2 separate regions of the Homo sapiens genome follow, and region 2 is linked to region 1. Evidence: promoter capture Hi-C in 16 types of primary human blood cells and fetal thymus (Javierre and others, 2016). All regions are on one chromosome and are shown on one strand. The core of a region is centred on a gene start or on the middle of the fragment in contact, and the rest is flanking DNA. Distances in the headings are between cores, read along the strand shown.

Region 1 (6,846 bases), core at 591-3,090:
TACTAAAAATACAAAAATTAGCTGGGCGTGGTGTCGGGCACCTGTAATCCCAGAGGATTACAGGTACTCCAGAGGCTGAGGCACAAGAATCGCTTGAATTCGGGAGGCGGAGGTTGCAGTGAGCCGAGATTGCGCCACTGCACTCCAGCCTGGCGACAGAGCAAGACTCTGTCTCAAAAAAATTAATTAATTAATTAAAAAATAAATAAAAAATTTTTTTGAAACAGGATCTTACTCTATCACCGAGGCTGGAGAGCAGTGGCATCATAATCGTGGCTCACTACAGCCTTGGACTCTTGGGCTCAAGTGTTCTGCCCACTTCTGTCCCCCAAGTAGCTGCGGCTGGGACTACAGGCCACACCACCATGTATGGCTAATTTTTTTTTTTTTTTTTTTTTTTTTTTGTCGAAGCAGTCTCACTATGTTGCCCAAGCTGGTCTTGAACTCCTGGGCTTAAGGGATCCTCTCACGTTGGCCTCCCAAAGTGCTGGGATTACAAGTGTGAGCCACCGCAACAGGTCTTAGATAATATTTTCTTTCTTTCGTGTTTCGTATTTTTTTCCACCCCCAGCACACATATAGCAAGAATAATTTTTTTCTAAAGGCAGAGATAAACTTGTTTCTCTTTTACTCTCTTTCTTTCTTTCTTTTTTTTTTTTTTTTGAGACGGAGTCTGGCTCTGTCGCCCAAGCTGGAGTGCAGTGGCGCAATCTCGGCTCACTGCAAGCTCTGCCTCCCGGGTTCACGCCATTCTCCTGCCTCAGCCTCCCAAGTGGCTAGGACTACAGTCGCCTGCCACCACGCCCGGCTAATTTTGTGTGTGTGTGTGTATTTTTAGTAGAGATGGGGTTTCACCATGTTAGCCAGGATGGTCTCGATCTCCTGACCTCGTGATCCGCCCGCCTCGGCCTCCCAAAGTGCTGGGATTACAGGCGTGAGCCACCGCGCCCGGCAAACTTGTTTCTTTATACCCGTGCTGTTCATATTTCAGCTTCCTGGTTACCAAGGCTACACATTCATGGCCTATTGAGTGAGATTTCAGGAGTACTGCACCTTAAGTGGGCCATATTAAAAGATTCACGTAAAGAATGACATTTTTAGTTCAAATCTCTGTTTTCCTAAGCTATTTGGTCAGAGAAATCACACATGGGTCCCCATAAGAGAGATCGTTCCAACTGAAGCCCCAGGATGTGTCTAGGTAGGCTGTGTGTGTTGGGGTGGTGGGGCCGATTCTGTATAACTAATTTACGTTTTCACCCTGTTCCACCAGGGGGCAGACTGACTCAACAAATAACCTACTTCTGCGCATCCCGCTTTTTTCAAAGTGAATTGGGACCCATAGAACTAAGGGCTTGGACAACTAACAGTAAAATTCTAGGACTGCCTTTTACTCAGCCCCAGAAACCGATGATAACTCATCTTCTAGCTTCGTTGAATAGCATCTCCAAAACTCAGCCCCATTTTTTTTTTTCAATTTCTAGTGCTCTCCCTACCTTCACCCTTATTCCCAAAACTCTTGGTTCTCTTCCCCTAATCCCTCTAAAATTTCTCTTCTAAAATTTCTGGTCGTCGTGGTTAAACCTCTACTTCCCTTCACCCCAGCCTCTCTGGCCTCAGAATGGAAGAGTAAGGTCCTAAGAGGGGAGCTACAATTACCGAAAGGCTGTGGAAAATAGCGAGAGAGACAGGCCGGCCTAAGCTAGGAAGGGAAAACCGAGAGAACAGAGGCCGGGCTGGCAGCCTTGGCCTGCTCAAAAGGGTGGGCGGGCAGGGGGTGGAGCCCGGAGGGGTGCCGCCTCTCCTCTTTCCCGGAGCCTGGGCGGAGAGGGAGGAAAACTTCTTCCTGGCCTGGGCTCCGTGCCGCTCTGTTTGCCAACCGTCCAGTCCCGCCTACCAGTGCCGGGCGCTCCCCACCCCTCCCCCGGCTCCCCCGGTGTCCGCCATGGCCAAAGCCTACGACCACCTCTTCAAGTTGCTGCTGATCGGGGACTCGGGGGTGGGCAAGACTTGTCTGATCATTCGCTTTGCAGAGGACAACTTCAACAACACTTACATCTCCACCATCGGTGAGCCCGCTGGCCATGTCCCAGACCCCGACTCTCCTGTGACCTCCTTCTCCGGCTCCCGGATTACTAGTGACCCCACTTTTCAGTCCCCTTAGAGTAAGGCTCCTAAATTCTAGTCCCTCAACCCCTGGCTCTGACCCTTCCCCCGTGCATGTCTCTGTATAGTAACCAAACCTCTCACCTCTCTGAGGCCTTCAGGTAACTCTTCAACTGCTGCCAGCTCCTCATTTTCTTGGTACCATCGCCTTAGTCTCCCCAAATCCACAAGAACTCTTCTCTATTTTTCTCTGTTCCCCTCTTCCCCTACCCCCACCACCTAGAACTCTCTCGATCCTATCTCCATGTTTCCTGTATCCCTGTCCGCCACATCTTTTTCTCCCGATCCGATGCTAGCCTCTTTCTGTCTTGCTGAGCTTCAAACTCTCCCACTGTGTCCCCACCTCACCATCTACTTCCCAGGTTCCCTGCCCCAGTCTCCCTGCACCTCAGCTGAACAAGGGTTTGGGAAGGGTGGAACAAGGTGGCTGGGTGTGCTGGAGGGTGGCCCAAGGACTGTGATCATGAATATGCAGCCAGCTTGGTGAGGAACGTGGAAATGAGGGGACTTTTGGGGTCTCTGAGTCAGCCTGGTGACTCATCCTCCTCCCAGGGGCCCCCAGCAGGCTTGGGGGAGGTGCCCAAGTTTCTACTAAGAAGAACATTGTCTCCCCTCCTCCCTTCTCTTCTTTCTTCATCTCCTCTGGCTTGGGAAATAGACAGGAAGAGTCTCACGACAATTCTGGTTACAAAGGAAAAGGAAAAATGCCCCTCTTTCCTAATTGTCTCAAAAGTAATCCTGTTTAGCCTCAGACTTTCCTAGTGCCAAGTTTGGCCCACTAGTTAATTCACATAGACTGGCTTCAGCTACTTTTTTCCTTACTCTCTACTAGGAGGGTAGGTGGGATACCAAGAGTAGAGGGCTCTAAGAAAACAGAGAAGAGGAATGTGAAAGTAATATCTGGGGGGAGACAGAGACTGAATTCAGAGAGTTGTCAGCTGGTATAACTGAATGGACCCAAGAGGCAGCCTAAGGATTTTAAGCCTCCATGCAGAATTTTCGTCACCTTTTCCCTCCCAAAATCCATAAAATGTACGTAAAAATAGTATTCTTGCTATACAAATACAGCTTTGGGAAAATTCTCCTAGCTTGGCATTTCCAACAAGATTGTTCCCCAAGTGCCTCCCCTGCAGAATTTCTGGTGCCAGCACTGCTCCGTTCCTGTCCCTTCCATCACACAGTTTTACATGTGTGCATGCATGTCTCAACTTCAGTGCATACCTTCCACCCCTAGGAATTGATTTCAAGATCCGCACTGTGGATATAGAGGGGAAGAAGATCAAACTACAAGTCTGGTAAGTCAGTCCTCTGGGATGCCTCGCCAGACTTCCCCATTTACCTCCTACACGTTTTTCCTTCTATTTTGTTTCATTTCTCTTCCTTTCCCCATTGCTCCTTCTAGAAGTGCTAGAAGGAGCACTTCTGGCATTTCTCCGGATGCACTCAGCTGTCCTTCCATCTCTCTTCCTGCTCTCCCAACTAGTTCCAACTCTTTTGTAACTCTTGCCTCCTCTGGCTGCAGAGCATCCTCTTAATTTGACAACAAACAACTGTTCAGTCATAACATGGAAACAGGCTGTGAGCAGTTAAATGGCAAAGGCAGAATTAAGACTTGACTCTAAGTCTAGTGTTTTCTCCAAAATATGGTGAGCCCAGAGAGCCAAATATAGACCCTGAAGGTGTTTAAGTGGTATGAAGCTTAGTGGAGGCATTATGCTATGACATATAAGAGCAGACTGGTGCGCAAATCTGGTTCTTTTAGTTATCTCCTGCCTGACCTTCATTAATTATTCAGCCTATCCAAATCTGTTTCCTCTTTTTTTTTTTTTTTTTTTTTTGAGACAGAGTTTTGCTCTTGTCACCCAGGCTGGAGTGCAATGGCACAATCTAGGCTCACTTTAACCTCCGCCTCCTGGGTTCAAGTGATTCTCCGACCTCAGCCTCCCAAGTAGCTGGGATTACAGGCGCCCGCCACTAGGCCGGGCTAATTTTTGTATTTTTAGTAGAGACGAGGTTTCACCATGTTGGCCAGGCTGGTCTTGAACTCCTGACCTCAGGTGATCCACCCGCCTCAGCCTCCCAAAGTGTTGGGATTATAGACGCAAGCCACGGCACCTGGCGTGTTTCCTCATTTTTAAAATAGAGACAATAATACATGTCTTACAAGGAAAGAGTAAGGATTAGATAAAATGATACATACACAGTGCTTGACACATAGCAAACATTCAATGAATAAGCAAAGACATCTTGTTTCTTGGGCCACTACCATCTCTGGAAATCAGCTCAACTGTCTTTAATCCCGTTCCCCTTTACTGTTTCCTTATTCTGTTGCCCCACCATGTTACAAAAGCTAAATTCTTGTGAGAGAGGAAGAATTATTCCGTTGGAGAATTCTTCCCTCTATTCCATCCCATGAAAACTTCTCCTTCTTTAGGGACACGGCTGGCCAAGAGCGGTTCAAGACAATAACTACTGCCTACTACCGTGGAGCCATGGTATGAAGTGTGGGTCTGAACAAAGGATGAAGGATGAGGCTACAGAATATATTATGAATACAAAGGGTCAGGGGTTGGGGCAGGTAAAAATGGGAGGGGTGCAGTGTGGGTTGCAGAGGGCCCAACATGGCCTAGTGTTTAGACCCATGGATGCGGGGTCACTTACAGGGCAGTGGGAAGCCTCAATGGGAACATGGTCCAAGGTGAATTTTGTCATCTCCCAGGGCATTATCCTAGTATACGACATCACGGATGAGAAATCTTTCGAGAATATTCAGAACTGGATGAAAAGCATCAAGGAGGTGAGGACCCTCCAAAAGAGATGGGGAAACTGGTTAGAACCTGGAGAATGAAGGGGTCCATCAGGATAGGCAAGACCTAACTTTTTTTTTTTTGAGATGAAGTTTTGCTCTTGTTGCCCGGGCTGGAGTGCAATGGCAGGATCTCGGCTCACTGCAACCTCTGCCTCCCAGGTTCAAACGATTTTCCTGCCTCAGCCTCCCAAGTAGCTGGGATTACAGGCATGCACCACCATGCTCGGCTAATTTTGCATTTTTAGTAGAGACGGGTTTTCTCCATGTTGGTCAGGCTGATCTTGAACTCCTGCATCAGGTGATCCACCCGCCTTGGCCTCCCAAAGTGCTGGGATTACAGGCGTGAGCCACCGCTCCCAGCCGGCAGGACCTAACTTTTACTTGTCTTTTGCCCCCAGAATGCCTCGGCTGGGGTGGAGCGCCTCTTGCTGGGGAACAAATGTGACATGGAGGCCAAGAGGAAGGTGCAGAAGGAGCAGGCCGATAAGGTGAGGGCCAGGCTGAGCAATGTTCTAGAACTGGGCTGGGAGGGCCAAGATAGGTTGCATTGCAGAGGACTTGGCTGCTGTCCTTAATTCAATTCTCTTCCCACTTCACCCCTTATAGTTGGCTCGAGAGCATGGAATCCGATTTTTCGAAACTAGTGCTAAATCCAGTATGAATGTGGATGAGGTGAGATCCACACCCCCATCCCCGACCAAGAGAGGAAGTATTAGAAGGTAGATTCTCCTCCCTCCAAACTGACTCTGTTCCCCACTTTAGGCTTTTAGTTCCCTGGCCCGGGACATCTTGCTCAAGTCAGGAGGCCGGAGATCAGTAAGTTGGTTTTGCTGGACTAGGTACAACTCTGGGGTGTGTGTGTGTGTATGTATGTGTGTGTGTGTGTGTGTGTGTGTGTGTGTGTTGGTGTTGATAAAAACGGGGAGCAATGCTAAGATTTCTCATGAGGGTGGATTTACTTTAAACAGTTTATACCCTCCTACCCTAACCATCCATTCACACCATGACACCTGTGCCCTTCTCCCTCTAGGGAAACGGCAACAAGCCTCCCAGTACTGACCTGAAAACTTGTGACAAGAAGAACACCAACAAGTGCTCCCTGGGCTGAGGACCCTTTCTTGCCTCCCCACCCCGGAAGCTGAACCTGAGGGAGACAACGGCAGAGGGAGTGAGCAGGGGAGAAATAGCAGAGGGGCTTGGAGGGTCACATAGGTAGATGGTAAAGAGAATGAGGAGAAAAAGGAGAAAAGGGAAAAGCAGAAAGGAAAAAAAGGAAGAGAGAGGAAGGGAGAAGGGAGAGGAATGAATTGAGGAAGTGAAAGAAGGCAAGGAGGTAGGAAGAGAGGGAGGAGGAAAGGAAGGAGAGATGCCTCAGGCTTCAGACCTTACCTGGGTTTTCAGGGCAAACATAAATGTAAATACACTGATTTATTCTGTTACTAGATCAGGTTTTAGGGTCCTGCAAAAGGCTAGCTCGGCACTACACTAGGGAATTTGCTCCTGTTCTGTCACTTGTCATGGTCTTTCTTGGTATTAAAGGCCACCATTTGCACAAATGTTCCTGTTTTGGGTAACTTGGATTATTGTCAGAATTGTTCTCCACTCAAATCCAATTATTGTGTCTTCAAAGTGATTGATTTACCCAAATCAGGCTCGGTTTCTGTGGAACCAGGACTAATCCTACTGCTGTCTCTTCCCTAGCTGTTCTGTTGGTAAGGAAAATAGCAAAGAGCAGGAGGTAGAGTGATCTGAAGGTCTGGATATCCTCTTTCCGCCATGGGGTCCGGATGCCCTTGTGGGCAGAGCCTTGTCCTGAGCACAGGAAATTCCCAGCGAGAAGAACTCTAACAGTCCTAGCCTCAGGGAAATAACTG
Region 2 (6,312 bases), core at 1,040-3,539, 630 kb after region 1:
CCCAGGACATCTGAAGCTTTATATGAAAATTCCTGTTTAATACAATTTGTCCATTAATTTAAAATAAAAACAAAAAAAGCATGACAATGAAGCAGGGTGTGTGTGACTCAAACCCTGAGTGATGGTGTGCGGCAGGCATCTCTGCTTTGTCATGGAGCTCTCAACTTTCAGGTGGACTTTCTGATTCCTCCACACCACTGTGGCTCCTCTAGGCAGGGATGCTGCCTGCTACCCTCCAAAGTCTTAGCACCAGGCAAGGGCTGGCTCAGAGGCACTGGATGAACGCTTGTTGATTGAATAAATTCAGGAGTGCATGAATCAATGATGAAATGAGTGAATGTGACATAAACACTGGCCTGTCACCCTCTGTTCTGTGACTTTCTGCAGAGCCACTGACTGTGGTCATTTAGTGCTGATTCAGAATGAAAGTAAAATAGGGAGTTGGGGGAGAGAAGGCTCAGCAGTGGGTGGGAATGAGCAGCTGGTCAGGGTTTCAAAACAGACGGGAATCTGCACTTGGGGGATCTGATGCTGACAGTGGGCCCCCATCTTAGAAGGCCACTGCAGGCCCCCAGGTTCCAGGCTAGCCCAGGCGCAGGTGAGGCCAGGGCTGAGCCATTCTGGTTCTGACCGGAGCAGACAATTCCTGGCATGATCAGTAGGTGGCCGACACCCACCTGCCTCCTCACTGCCAGCCGAGGCCAGAGGTTGGACTGAGGGATGGTGGGATGGGGGTCTTCCCCTCTGGGTACTGATTTTCCAGGGAAAGTCGGAGCCTTCTGCTAGGGCATGAAGTGGGTGGGCCAATTTTCCTGGCTCTGTACAATGACTCGAGGTTTTCACTGGGAGAAAAGGGTGTGGCTTTTTGGGTTAAAAAACAAATAAGTGGCCGGGCACGGTGGCTCACGCCTGTAATCCCAGCACTTTGGGAGCACGAGGCGGGTGGATCACAAGGTCAGGAGTTCGAGACTAGCATGGCCAACATGGTGAAACCTCCATCTTTACTAAAGATACAAAAAATTAGCCGGGTGTGGTGGTGCGCACCTGTAATCCCAGCTACTCAGGAGGCTGAGGTAGGAGAACCGCTTGAACCTGGGAGGCAGAGGTTGCAGTGAGCCAAGATCGCGCCATTGCACTCTGGCCTGGGTGGCAGGGTGAGACTCCATTTCAAACAAACAAACAACCAAGCAAGTAAACAAACAAGCAGGCAGAGGTTCCTGCAGCTACCATCAAATCACTGTGCTCTTTCCCAGATGCCTGGGACCCACTGCGGGTCTGTCTTTCCCTTCTCTGCAGCTCCCACTGTGGTCTTTCAGGGAGCTTTACCCCTCCTGTGTTGTAATGGGGGTGTTACAGCAGGCACACAGTGGGACCCGGACTGAGGGACTGAGCTGGTTTTAGTCCTTAGCTTTCTCAGACTTGCTGGTGGTCTTTAGAAGTGATTTCCATGTTCGGGCCTCCATTTTCTTATCCATTACATGAGGAGATTGGGACAGCTGACCCTTAGGTCATTTCTAGCACAGATTCCAAGTTTTGATGGACTCTTGGTGGGCTTCATGACTACTACTAGCCTCATGGCCCCTGGACACTGTCTCCTGGCTTACTTGCTCCACCTGCAGGTGAAGTCAGGTCCCTCTCCTCACAGGGACTCTGATGCCTGAGGCCCAGCCCCACTCAGGCTGCGCACAGCCTGCTGCCTATTCCTCCACTCCCTGTCTTCCTCCTTGCTGGGAGTCCCAAGTGCTCTTCCTTGGAGATCTCTGGGTACGGGTCTCCTAACCACAAGCGCCCTAACATCCCCCATTTCCCCAGTGCTCATTCTAGACTCTAGTGCATTAGGATGACTTACAGAAGCTATCCACGGGTAGCTTCAGACCATTGTTCTACCACGTTTGGGCTCAGTCCACATCAAGCTTTGACCACCCCTGGCATCCTTGTGGCCTCCCTTGACTGGCCATCCTGAGGTCTCTGAGGCCCTCTGCTGAGAGCAGCCGCACTCCCTGCCCCCATGCTGGGCTGCTCCAGCATCCACAGTGAGGACCCTCCAATGATCTGGCTTCTTAGACATTCAACCTAAGCTTCCCCAAGTCTGGACCTCTCCCCCTGTCTCCACCTTGGCTGCCTCTGCTCATCATCCTCCTAATTTCTCAGACATGCCACCTTCAAAATTGAGAAAGCTGGCATTCCCTTTTGTTGCCTGGCTTCTGTTGCTCCAACCCTTTCTCCTCCCCGATCTCTTGGGAACCTGGCTTTTGCGCTCACTATGTCCCTAGGTTCCAGATCTCTGCAGAAATTTTTGGCGAGTATCTCAGCATCTGGCTTTTGGCATCCTCTGCTCTCAGGACTCCCTTTGAAGTCCACAGCCCTTTGTAAAGAATAAAGGGTTTTCACACTCAGCAGGCATTATAATCACTGGCGTTTGGATCTGTCTCCCTCATTATATTATTAACTACTTGAGAGCAGTGTTCTCAATGTACTCATCCCTGGATGATAAGCTTTGCATATGAGTGACACCTGACAAATGTTTGCAGAATAAAATGAATGACTGGCTTGGTTTGGCCAGAACTTATGCTTAGGAGATGGCTATGCCCTGTAATTATGAAGGCGTTGGTGGATAAAGCTAGTTAGAAAAAAAAAAGACGTGCCACACAGAAGCATGAAGGTAAGGAAGGAAGTGGAAGGGAGTGATGGATAAAAGAGGTTGCTCAGAGACTCCTAGTGAGTGAAAGGTGACTCCGGAGTTATCAGAGGGCGCATGCTGCCACCTTGTGGCCTATCTGCATCAGGACAGCCTGTGGGATTCCTTTGGCCCCAGGTTTTTAATCTTTTTGCTCTCTGGACCCTTTTATATGTATTCATAGAAGTTATTGAGTATCCCAAAGAGCTTTTGTGGATTAGATGTATCAGTATTTACTACATTAAAAGTTTAAAAAATTTAAAATGATTTATTAACTCACTTAAAGTACCATTAATAAACACATTACGTATTACCACGTTTTTAAACAATTAAAAATAATTATATATATATGTCAAAAGCTAGTGAGAAGAGTGTTTTTTTTTCACATTTTTGCAGACCTTTTTACTGTATGGCTTCAAAGAAGACAGCTGGTTTATCACATCTACTTCTGCATACAAGGTATTGCTGTATGTTGCTTTGGTTGAAGATTTGAAGAAAATCCAATCTCCCACAGATAAGTAGTTGCAAAGGGGATGAATACATTAATAGCCTTTAAATATATAATTGTGGATATTCTTCTCTCATATTACATCAAAACCCAACAAGTGATGGTTTCTCAAAGGTTAGTTGCAACGTAAAGTCTGAAACCATATCAATGAATTATTTGTTCTCTGTTACATTAGAATCAATTGGTCCCTCTTAAAATTTAATGGATCTTTTATCCAAACTTTGTGACTTCATATATTGATCATTTGGAAAATATTGGTTGACTGAGTTATGTACGTCTTCTAAATGCTGACATCATTTATTACTCTCTATATATACATATTTATATATATCACACACACATATAAATAAACCACATTTGGCCGGGCGTGGTGGCTCACGCCTGTAATCCCAGCACTTTGGGAGGCTGAGGCGGGCAGATCATGAGGTCAGGAGATCGAGACCATCCTGGCTAACACTATGAAACACCATCTCTACTAAAAATACAAAAAATTAGCCATGTGTGGTAGCACATGCCTGTAGTCTCAGCTACTTGGGACACTGAGGCAGGAGAATCACTTGAACCCGGGAGGCAGAGGTTGCAGCGAGCAGAGATCATGCCACTGAATTCCAGCCTGGGCGACAGAGATAGATTCCGTCTCAAAAACAAACAAAACAAAACAAAACAAAAAAAGCAAAAAAGCCCCACCACATTTGTTAATATCACCACTGATCCTGTCAGTAGTCTTCAAATATTGGGAAGCTGTCAAACTCATGGTGGCAGACACAAATTTTCCAAAATTCAAATTTTTGACTGAAAGCTCCAATTTTATTATGCTAACAAATTGTAGTTGTTTTCCCGGAAGTGAAAGGCTCACTTTGTTAATTTTCAAGAAAATGTATGCCGCATACCCAAATATGAGTATCCATAGTTTGGCTATCATTTGTTCTATGTTATTTGTTCACGGCGTCCATGAAAAGTGGCTGGTTCAGCTCACAACTGTAGCACACAAATGCTTTTCCTTGAGAGAATCAGGGTTGAGATTTAATAAAATGAGTAATTTTCACTGCTTCATCAAAAACATTCCTAAGTGAGCCTCCTTTTCTTGAAAGAATACATTGTGAAGAATACAATGACTGCTAGTGCAGTCTGACGCCACACATAGGTTCATGTCTCTAACGGTTTTTTCTACCATTGTTTTTGTGTCATCAGTGCAAATATCAGCACAGTGAGGAAAGTGAGGAGCCGGGAGTCTTGGTTTGTGGGCAGTTTCCTGTGGTGGGAAGTTCAGAGAATATTGTTCTGGAATTAGTTTTGATCTCATGGACCCCCCCAAGGGGTCTTGGGGTCCCCCAGTTTCCCCTGGGCCACTTTTTGAGAACCACTGCCTTAGGTACTTGAAGGTATGCATTATTTGAGGCAGGTCGGTGTGCTGGCTTGCTTTTCCTTTCCATTTCTTCTTTTGACACCTTTTAAAAGAGTGTCCTGTTTAAGTCTTTCTTTCTTTCTCTCTTTCTTTCTTTCTTTTTTCTTTCTTTCTTTCTTTCTTTCTTTCTCTCTTTCTTTCTTTCTTTTTTCTTTCTTTCTTTCCTTTCTTTCTTTCTTTCTCTCTCTCTCCCTCTCTCTCTCTCCCTCCCTCCCTCCCTCCCTTCCTTCCTTCTTTATCTGACAAATGCTTATTGAGTTTCTAACATGTGTCAGCATTATGCCAGACACTAAGCTAAACCCTGAGACTACAGAATAAAGTAAATTCCCACTTCTGTGAAATTCACAGCTGGAGGGAGGCTTAAGACAGAGGACAAAAAAATGTAAATATAAATAATGATAGTATTAAAGGCAGGTAAAGAGATAGACTTGGGAACTGCTCTTGAGGAGATTATAATTACAATTCATTCAGGTGCTAGAATGGAGAAGAGAGACTCTGAGCCTCTACCAGTCCCAACTAGTCACGGAGCCCTTTCCAAAGATGCCAGGCTGAAGTGGAGCCTCTGGGCGCAGGTGGGGAGCGAGGCTGGGCACTTGGGAAGGGTCTTGAGATGGTGGGAGGTGGGGCAGAGAGCACTGGGAGCCTGCTCTGGCAGCGTGGAGTGAGATGGGGCTGGGGGCCAGATAATTTAGGACTTAGGAGGTCCTCTCGGGATTCTGAGTTCACAGAATCAGAGAGGGACAACCCACACTGCTCTCTTCCTCCCTCCCGATGCCCTCGTCCCGGACAGCCCTCAGTCTGTTAGTCCTCAAGAATCTGTTGGTCTCTGGATGGGGCAGAGAATCTGTTGGTCCCCTTTGGCAGCCACCACCCAATCTCTTCTTGGGCTTCCCCTCCCCAAGCCGCTCCAAAAAGGGGAACCGAGTCTCCTCAAGTCCTTGGTGCCCCGGATGCAAGCCCAGAAACCTTCTCATTTTGAGAACTGTTCTACTTATTTAGGATGGGCGGCCAGCAAAAGGCATGGAGAAACAGCATGTTGCCAGGCTGGGGAAACTACCAGGGTCCCTACAGTGCTGGTCCCAGGCTGCAGTTCTTGGTCTCCTTCATCTCTGTCTCTGGCTCTGCCCCACATTCACCCTCACCCCAGGACAGAGCTCAGCAGCCCCTGCTCATCACACAGCTCCAGCCTGGGTCTGGGTGCATGACTGGGATGAATGCCAGGTAGACCTGGCGCATGCTCAATGGGCCCCATCCAGAGAGCGCTCCTGGGGAGCCCAGTCTGAGAGTGGGACTGCAGCTCACTGAGAGCAACTGTTCTGGATTCAGGGCACTTCCTAAGTGTCTAGGGAGGCTGCCCCACCCTCCGGGACATGAGAGGCTCTGCAGGTCCCCGTGGAGACTGCATCCTACTGCGTTCTTGGAAAGTGTCATGCAGAGTTTCCTCTGTGAAGACTCAAGGGCTGTAAGTCCAGGTTGCAGAATGTGGAATGAGATTAGGTGACAACTGGAACATGGCGAGGAGCTGGAGATTCTTGGTTTGTGGGAGGCTTTCTGTGGTAGGTGGCAGCTTGATGCCGACGGTGGGGAGTGGCAGGCGGGAGGATGATGGGCAGACATGTAAGCTATTGGGGCAGAATTAGGCATCGTGAGCTGTTTCCTGAGATTGTACCTCCCAGTTTCTCTCTGTCCATCCTGACCCTGCTCATGACCCTGGTAAAAGGT

Evidence for each region. Contacts are between HindIII fragments. The CHiCAGO score rates a contact against its expected background, and 5 or more counts as called.
Region 2: a contact is called between a fragment that was not itself captured here and the fragment with the promoter of RAB13 in region 1, in 1 of 17 cell types (erythroblasts). The highest score is 5.9, in erythroblasts.

What each region holds. Positions count from the first base shown.
Region 1 is chr1:153,981,333-153,988,178 of GRCh38, reverse strand. RAB13 (RAB13, member RAS oncogene family) reads left to right here and starts at 1,840. Exons shown (of 8, transcript NM_002870.5): 1 at 1,840-2,066; 2 at 3,398-3,458; 3 at 4,598-4,658; 4 at 4,883-4,960; 5 at 5,371-5,460; 6 at 5,579-5,644; 7 at 5,735-5,788; 8 at 6,003-6,529. The coding sequence starts at 1,943. The coding sequence ends at 6,080. RefSeq lists a silencer at 1,756-1,925 and enhancers at 1,737-2,238, 2,552-2,781. The HindIII fragment of the contact is 17,219 bases long and covers 1-3,863 here.
Region 2 is chr1:153,349,075-153,355,386 of GRCh38, reverse strand. No RefSeq gene overlaps it. Among named protein-coding and RNA genes, the nearest start is that of PGLYRP4, 3.4 kb to the right of the region's middle. RefSeq lists silencers at 1,587-1,636, 2,662-2,711. The HindIII fragment of the contact is 417 bases long and covers 2,081-2,497 here.